Regions from separate parts of the Homo sapiens genome. Here region 1 is linked to region 2. The links are contacts of gene promoters, found by promoter capture Hi-C in blood cells and fetal thymus (Javierre and others, 2016). All regions are on one chromosome and are shown on one strand. Each heading gives the region's core, a stretch centred on a gene start or on the middle of the fragment in contact. The rest is flanking DNA. Distances are from core to core; before and after follow the strand shown. Region 1 overlaps BORCS5 (BLOC-1 related complex subunit 5). Region 2 holds the start of HEBP1 (heme binding protein 1).

Region 1 (3,866 bases), core at 1,163-3,662, 630 kb after region 2:
GAGTACAGCGCTATGAACACCGCTCGACCTCCCAGGGTCAAGTGATCCTCCCACTTCAGCCTCCCAAGTAGCTGGGAGTACAGGTGCACACCACCACACCTAGATAAACTTTTTTTTTTTTTTCTGTAGTACAGACAGGGTCTCACCATGTTGTTCAGGCTGGTCTCAAACTTCTGGGCTCAAGTAATCCTCCCACCTCGGCCTCCCAAAGTGCTGGAATTAGAAGCATGAGCCACTGTGACTGGCCAGCATCTTTTAAATATGTTTTAAAATATATATAGAAGACTTTTAAACTAAGAATACCCTTGGCCGGGTGCGGTGGCTCACACCTGCAATCCCAGCACTTTGGGAGGCTGAGGCGGGCGGATCACGAGGTCAGGAGATCGAGACCATCCTGGCTAACACAGTGAAACCCCATCTCTACTAAAAATACAAAAAAAAAATTAGCCAGACGTGGTGGCGGGCACCTGTAGTCCCAGCTACTCGGGAGGCTAAGGCAGGAGAATGGCGTGAACCCGGGAGGCAGAGCTTGCAGTGAGCCGAGATTGCACCACTGCACTCAAGCCTGGGCGACAGAGCGAGACTCCGTCTCAAAAAAAAAAAAAAAAAAAAAAAAGAATACTCTCTGCAACCCTGCCTTCTCTATGTAGCTACCTGCTATTCATCCCTCAAAGCTCAGCTGAATTCTACTTCCTCTAGGAAGCCTGCCCCAAATTCCCAGGCCAAATTAATAATTATCTCCTCCATGTTTATCTACTCTTTGGGACATGTGGCCAGTGTTACTAATATGATATTATTGTGAATACTTACCTGTCTAAATCGCTCACAAAACAATAAGGTCCTAAAGGGCAGCAACTATGTCTTCTATTTTTTGTACCTGCACTGTCTGACCACATCAGGCACTTAGCAGGTGCTTATCAATATGTTGCAGAAATGAATGACCAATTAAAGGCTGTTGGCAGGAGGGTCTTATAAGTAAAATGGAAAAACTGGTATCGGACAGAAAAATATGGATTAAAAAGCATTTTTTTAAGGATTTCTGCCTCTGCACATGAAGGATTAACTGCTATTATGCAATAATAAACAACTAGAAAACCAGACAAAAATATATGAAACACTCATTTCCGATACTGTATAACAGGCAGCACAGGACTTTGATCCCTGAAAGAAGGAAAACAAGCCCTACCATTTTCCCAGCTTATTACCTAAAGGCAGTTTCCAAGAGGCAGACCAGGGAGGTGTCTTGGTCGGTACAGGCTGCTACAACAAGAATACCATAAACTGGATGGCTTAAACAACATACATTTATTTCTCACAGTTCTGGAGGCTGGGAAGTACAAGATTTAGGTGCTAGCACATTGGATATTTGGTGAGGGCACTCTTCCTGGTTTGCAAATGGCTGTCTTCTCCTTGTGTCCTCACATGGCTAAGAACAGAAGGAAGAAGGAACCTCTCTCCCCTCTCTTCTTGTAAGGGCGTGACTCCCATGACATGAGGGCTCCACCCTCATGATCAAATCACTTCCCAAGGCCCCATCTCCTAATACAGCATATTGGGGATTACAATTTCAACCTGTGAATTGGGGGGAGACATAATCATTCAGTCCATAGCAGAATGGACATCAAAAAAAGCCCAGCAGCCTCACTGAGTTAGAGAGAGAGCAAAGTTTGCAGAAACTAAAGTGGGTAGGATTTACACAACAGAATATGGGAGAGAAGGGGGCAGCCTTGAGATCTGCACAGGGTACCCTTAAATCTCTGAAAACATCATCTGTAAATTTGTAAGGTGAAATTCCAGAGACTGGAGAAAACTAGAGAGAAGCAGTAGGCCAAATATTTTCTGAAGAGCTCATGTTCCCATTAGCCACAGTGGAGAGACTTCATAATACATAAGGCAACAGGTAGAGTACTCAGAAGGATTTCACCTTAGTAGTGAGATGAAATTAAACTAGGCAAAGACTGCACTAGATGAGCCCCAACGGTATTTAAAAGAAAACATGGGAAGGGTCCAAATGACTACAAGTAACTTAACCATATGTATATGCCAGAATAAAGTCTGGTATCCTTAAAGGAATAAAATGAAATCCAGGCCAGGTGTGGTGGTGCATGCCTGTAATCCCAACAATTTGGTGGACTGAAGCAGGCGGTTTGCTTGAGCCCAGGGGGGTTGAGGCTGCAGTGAGCCACGGTGGTGCCACTGCACTCTAGCCTGGGCAACAGAGCGAGATCCTGTCTCTAAAAGGAAAAAAAAAATTAGTAAGTAAATTTTAAAAGAAATGCACTCTACTCCCAGCACTTTAGGAAGCCGAGGCAGGTGGATCACCTGAGGTCAGGAGTTCAAGACCAGCCTGGCCAACATGGCGAAACCCCGTCTCTACTAAAAGTACAGAAATTAGCTGGGCATGGTGGCGGGTGGCTGAAATCCCAGCTACTCAGGAGACTAAGGCATGAGAATTGCTTGAACCCTAGAGGCAGAGGTTGCAGTGAGCTGACATCGTGCCATTGCACTCCAGCCTGGGCGACAAGGGCGAAACTCCCTCTTAAAAATAAAATTAAAATAAAATTGAAGTACTCATACGTTCAAAAAGTAGAGGAAAACATAAGCATGATAAGCAGAGAGATCAAAGACATTTAAGGGGGAGAATCTAAAGCTGAAAAATACCAGCATCTGAAATTAAGAACACCTTGGATGAGATTAAAAGCAGTACAGACATGACAGAAAAAAAGACCACTGAACATGGAAACACAGCAGTAAAAATTATCCAAAGTAAGGACAGAAAGGAAAAGACTAAAAATAAAAATTGAAAGGTGTGTCAGTGATGTGTAAGAAAATATCAAGCGGTCTAACATCGAATTGGCGTCCCACAAAAAGCAGGTGGGGGGAGCAGAAAAATATTGGAAGACATAATGACCAAAGTTTTCGATTAAAAGTACAAACCTGCAGATCAAAGAACATAGAGAACATATTAGTGTGAACTTGTCATTTTCAATATATAGAAAATATAGGCCAGGCATGGTGGCTCATGCCTGCAATCCCAGCACTTTGGGAGGCTGAGGCAGGTGGATCGCTTGTGCCCAGGAGTTTGAGACTAGCCTAGGCAACATTGGGAAACCCCATCTCTACAAAAAATACAAAAAGATTAGTTGGGCGTGGTGGCACGCAGAGTAGTCCCAGCTGCTCAGGAGGCTGAGGTAGGAGGATTCCTTGAGCCCAGGAGGTCAAAGCTGCAGTGAGCCGTGATTGTGCCACTGCACTCCAGCCAGGGTGAAAGGGCAAGATCGTGTTGCCAAATACACGAACATATAAAAAATAAACATAGGTGTAAATGTGTGGGTGTGTATCTATGGATTCCCTAGCTAAATCTTCTGAGAAGGTCCAGAAATGGATTCTAAATAAGACCCTTCACTAAAAGAACCAGGGTTCCTTTAAGAAATACCCGATTCTAGAGCTGGAGACATGGAAGAACAAAATAAGTCTGGAACATTATATTGTGCCAGAAAATAAAGACATTTTCAAAGTATAAGGGGAATATGTTAAAAGGACACAGTAGGCCAGGCGCAGTGGCTCACGCCTGTAATCCCAGCACTTTGGGAGGCCGAGGTGGGCGGATCACAAGGTCAGGAGATCGAGACCACCCTGGCTAACACAGTGAAATCCCGTCTCTGCTAAAAATACAGAAAAATTAGCTGGGCATGATGGTGGGCGCCTGTAGTCCCAGCTACTCGGCAGGCTGAGGCAGGAGAATGGCGTGAACCCAGGAGGCAGAGCTTGCAGTGAGCCAAGATCGCACCACTGCACTCCAGCCTGGGCCACAGAGCGAGACTCCATCTCCAAAAAAAAAAGGACACAGGAAGTTAGATTGAAGA
Region 2 (3,686 bases), core at 297-2,796:
ATACCACCAGGCAGTTGCCCGCGATCGCAGAGAGATGAGCGTCAGGACAGAGCCGATCACAACTTTCTCGGCCCTTTCTTGATTTGCTCCCCGCGGCCGGAGGCATTGCCCGGGGTTGCGTCCCAGGTGGGCGCCGGGCTGGCCGTCACCTCGGGGGCCCCCGCTCAGCAGATGCGGCGTCCCGGAGACCGCGACCGGTTCGGCGCCACCGTCGGGGCTCAGGTCGGGCAGCCTGCCCCCCACCTCCGGCAGGAGGAAAGAGCAGAGGCGCCCGTAGAGGTCCGGGTGGCCGCTGCTGTTAACATCCATCACTGCGCCGCCGTGTGGCGCTGCCCAAGAAGCCGCCCCACCCCCCTCCCCACCCCCGCGGCCGCCACAGGCTCCGGCTTTCGGCCCCGGGGCTTCAACTCGCCGGTTCCCCTCCGCCCGGCCCAGCTTGAGGCCTGCACCGGCCGCTGGGCAGCGCCAGGCTCGGCCTCGGGGCCCCGCCTGTCCCAGATCCCCGGCCGCTGCGTGAAACGCGAGAGCGCTGCCGAGCGGGGACTCCCTGAGGGAGGGACCTCGGACCCCGACGGACGCCCGGGACGCGCGGGCTCTCGGGCGCTCCGGCGGGGCTCGGCCCGCGGCTCCACAGCCCGCTGCACCCGCGCGGCTCGGAGCAATGGAGGATCAGGCAGCGGCAGAAGCTTCCGTTTCCTCCTTTTTAAATGGCTCCAAAATATTTCTTGTCGGTGGTGTGGAGTAGAGATTTATTGGTAAAATACTTGACAGAAAGCAGGCACTCAGCTGAGTAAATGGTGACAAAATTGGTGAGAAGATTTTTGAACAGGAGTGAACGAGAAAAGCCATGCTTAGAAAAGTCACCTGGAAACTGTGATTTAGAGGGATGGTAGGAAAGAGTGGCAGCAGGAAAGTGGTTTGGATGCTCTTTCAATGGTCTAGAAGAGGTCATGGGGCGGGGGTAGAGGGACAGCTACCAAGACAGGGAGCCTGGCCGCCGCTGTACCAGCGGGATCGAGCCTTCGGGTAGAGGACCGGAGAAGCGTGAGCAACCCGGGGCTCGGAGGTTGGAGCCCAGGCACCTGAGAGAGGACGTTCCCCACCACCGCTGCCTAAAGCCACTCCAGGCGAGAATCGCTTTCCAGGGCCCCAGCGGATAGGTTAGACTCAGAATAAGAGAAGGGGTCTGCGGAGGGGGACGGCCTGAGGCCCGCGGCCGGGTTCCCTCCCCAGACACCCGCGGAAAGCCCGAAAGGAGGCGGAACACGGCCCAGCGGCTCGCCACGGCGGGCCCATCCCTTGCTTAGCCGCCTCGCACCCTCGCCTCACCGCACTGCTGCACTGCTGCACTGCTGCCCTGCTGCCCGCCCTTCGCATCACTGACCCGCCCTCTCTCCGCCCCCTCGCCTCGCCGCCCCGCCCTCTCTCTCCGCCCCTTCACCTCGCCGTCCCGCCCCCTTGCCTCACCGCCGGGCTGAATTGCCGCCCCGCCCTCTAGCCACGCCCTCTGGCCCCTGCCTCTAGCCCCGCCTCTCGCCTCGCCGCCTCGCCGTCCCGCCGCCTTGCCGCCCTGCCACCCTGCCGCCCTGCCGCCCTGCCGCCCTGCCGCCCTGCCGCCGGTGGTCGCTGCCCGTGGTGCTCCGTCGCCCCCGCCACCTCACGTCCTCCCGTGCGTCGGGAGCGTCTCGGCTACAACATGTTGGGCATGATCAAGAACTCGCTGTTCGGAAGCGTAGAGACGTGGCCTTGGCAGGTCCTAAGCAAAGGGGACAAGGTAGGCCCGCAGGGCTGCCGAGGACCTGAAGGATTGCTGCCTCCCACCCCCACCCTCGTCGGGGCTGCAGCGGGTGCTGAGGGGCAGGTGGGGCAGGAATGTGCTATCGAAGGTGCGTTCTGGTGTCTGTCGCGAGTGCGGCTCTCCACCGCCCAGCATTTGGACTGGGAAGGAAAGGAGTGAGAGGTCCCCCTGCAGCCGGTGGTGAGAGGAGGGGGGTAAACAGGAGAGACTGATCCAAGGAGAGAATCCCAACTTGGGGAGTTGGGCACTGCCTGTTGAATGCATTCTTTCGTTTAAAATATTCCAAACATTCCGAACAGTTTGATTTGTTGAGAGACACTCGGTTGCAGAAATGAGTGTCGCAAGAAACTCCCAAGTACTAGAGAACTGCGGATAGTAGCCCCCTTTATCCGCGATTTCAGTTACCTGTGGTCAGCTCTTGTCCATAACTATTAAATGGAAAATTCCAGAAATACAGAAGTCCTAAGTTTTAAGTTTCCGGCCATTCTGCGTAGCAGGATGAAATCTTGATTCCTGGGACCGGAATGCCCCTTTGTCCAAGGTCAGCCTCCTATCTCTAGTAGCCGCCCTTAGTCACTTAGTAGCTAGCTTGGTGATCGGATCGACCGTGGCGGTATTGAAGTAACCCTTATTTTACTTAGTAATGGCCCCAAAGTGCAAGCTTAGCAATGCTGGCATATTGTTATAATTGCTGTTATTTTATTATTGTTGTTCATCTCTTACTGTGCCTAATTGATAAAGTTAAACTATATCATAGGTATGTATGTATAGGAAAAAACGTAGTAGATACAGGGTTCAGTTTTGTCCACCGTTTCAGGTATCCACTGGGGGGCTTGGAAGGTATCTACTATAGATAAGGGGGACTACTGTGTAAAAGAACAAGATCTGTGCAGAATAGATATAAATGCGCTACGCAGGGAGCACAGAGGCAGTCAATTCTGCCAGGGGGCTATGATGGGGACCTCAGTGGAGTGTCCTGAGCTGGGGCCTCAGGGATGTGTAGGAGTGCACACAACAGAGAAGAGCATGCACAAAGGCCCAGAGCTGTACCATTGCTTTTGGCCAGTTAGATCCTCTGGAGTTGGGTACCTAGAATACAGAATGAGTGAGAAGAGCATAATTGCTGTCTTCCCCCAAATTTATATCAGTGCTAACATGGGCTAACTGGACTGCACCCCTGAAAACAAGGAGAGTGCTGCTAGATTATAATCTCCTGGTGGACAGGTAGTTTAAACAGTGCAGCTGTATACAGAGCTCCCAATACGATGCCTCATTTGTGAAAGGACTGTATTGCCTGGGGGCCAAGTTCTGATACCTAGTACAATGATCTTCATATCACGAAAGCCCTCAATTAGACTCTAATCTGAACTCTTTGACAACCAAAGACCTTTCACCTGTTCTTATCTCCGTTTCCCCAGCTCTATGTAGAATGAACAGTTTAGCCCTGATCAGAGGTCCCACATTTGAATACCTGCAGCAACCAGGCAGGTAATGGAAATGGATGAAGCTGGCTGTTTTAGGCTATAAGGCATAGTGGGGACTGAGGCAAATCAGAGAGTGAACTCAGGTCCCCATCTCTAAACGGCAGTTCCAGCCACTTGTTGCTATGCAGTGATATATGAAACAGTGTTGCCAAATTCTTAAGGAAAACCATACATCCAGATTCTTAGCGAAATCACCCAATTTAAAAATAATTCGACAAAAACTGTTTTTTGAGTGCTATGTGCCAGGCACTCTTCTAGGCAATGGGATAAAAGATTAAAACCAGCAAAATTCTCTGCCCTCATGGAACTTATGTTTTATTGGCTAATGAACAAATAAAATGTATCATGGATCAGATAGTGATCAGTGCTGTGAAGAAAAGCAAGCAGGGGAGTGAGGAATAGGG

The links. Contacts are between HindIII fragments. The CHiCAGO score rates a contact against its expected background, and 5 or more counts as called.
Region 1: a fragment that was not itself captured here is called in contact with the fragment with the promoter of HEBP1 in region 2 in 4 of 17 cell types (total B cells, fetal thymus, neutrophils and 1 more); the score reaches 8.0 in total B cells.

Annotation. Positions count from the first base shown.
Region 1 is chr12:12,370,732-12,374,597 of GRCh38, reverse strand. All of the region lies in intron 2 of BORCS5 (BLOC-1 related complex subunit 5), which reads right to left. Among named protein-coding and RNA genes, the nearest start is that of BORCS5, 16 kb to the right of the region's middle. The HindIII fragment of the contact is 9,315 bases long and covers 1-3,866 here.
Region 2 is chr12:12,998,125-13,001,810 of GRCh38, reverse strand. HEBP1 (heme binding protein 1) reads left to right here and starts at 1,546. Exons shown (of 4, transcript NM_015987.5): 1 at 1,546-1,774. The coding sequence starts at 1,697. All of the region lies in intron 2 of GPRC5D-AS1 (GPRC5D and HEBP1 antisense RNA 1), which reads right to left. It also overlaps the pseudogene HTR7P1. RefSeq lists an enhancer at 1-27 and silencers at 452-601, 1,362-1,481, 1,532-1,681. The HindIII fragment of the contact is 1,773 bases long and covers 689-2,461 here.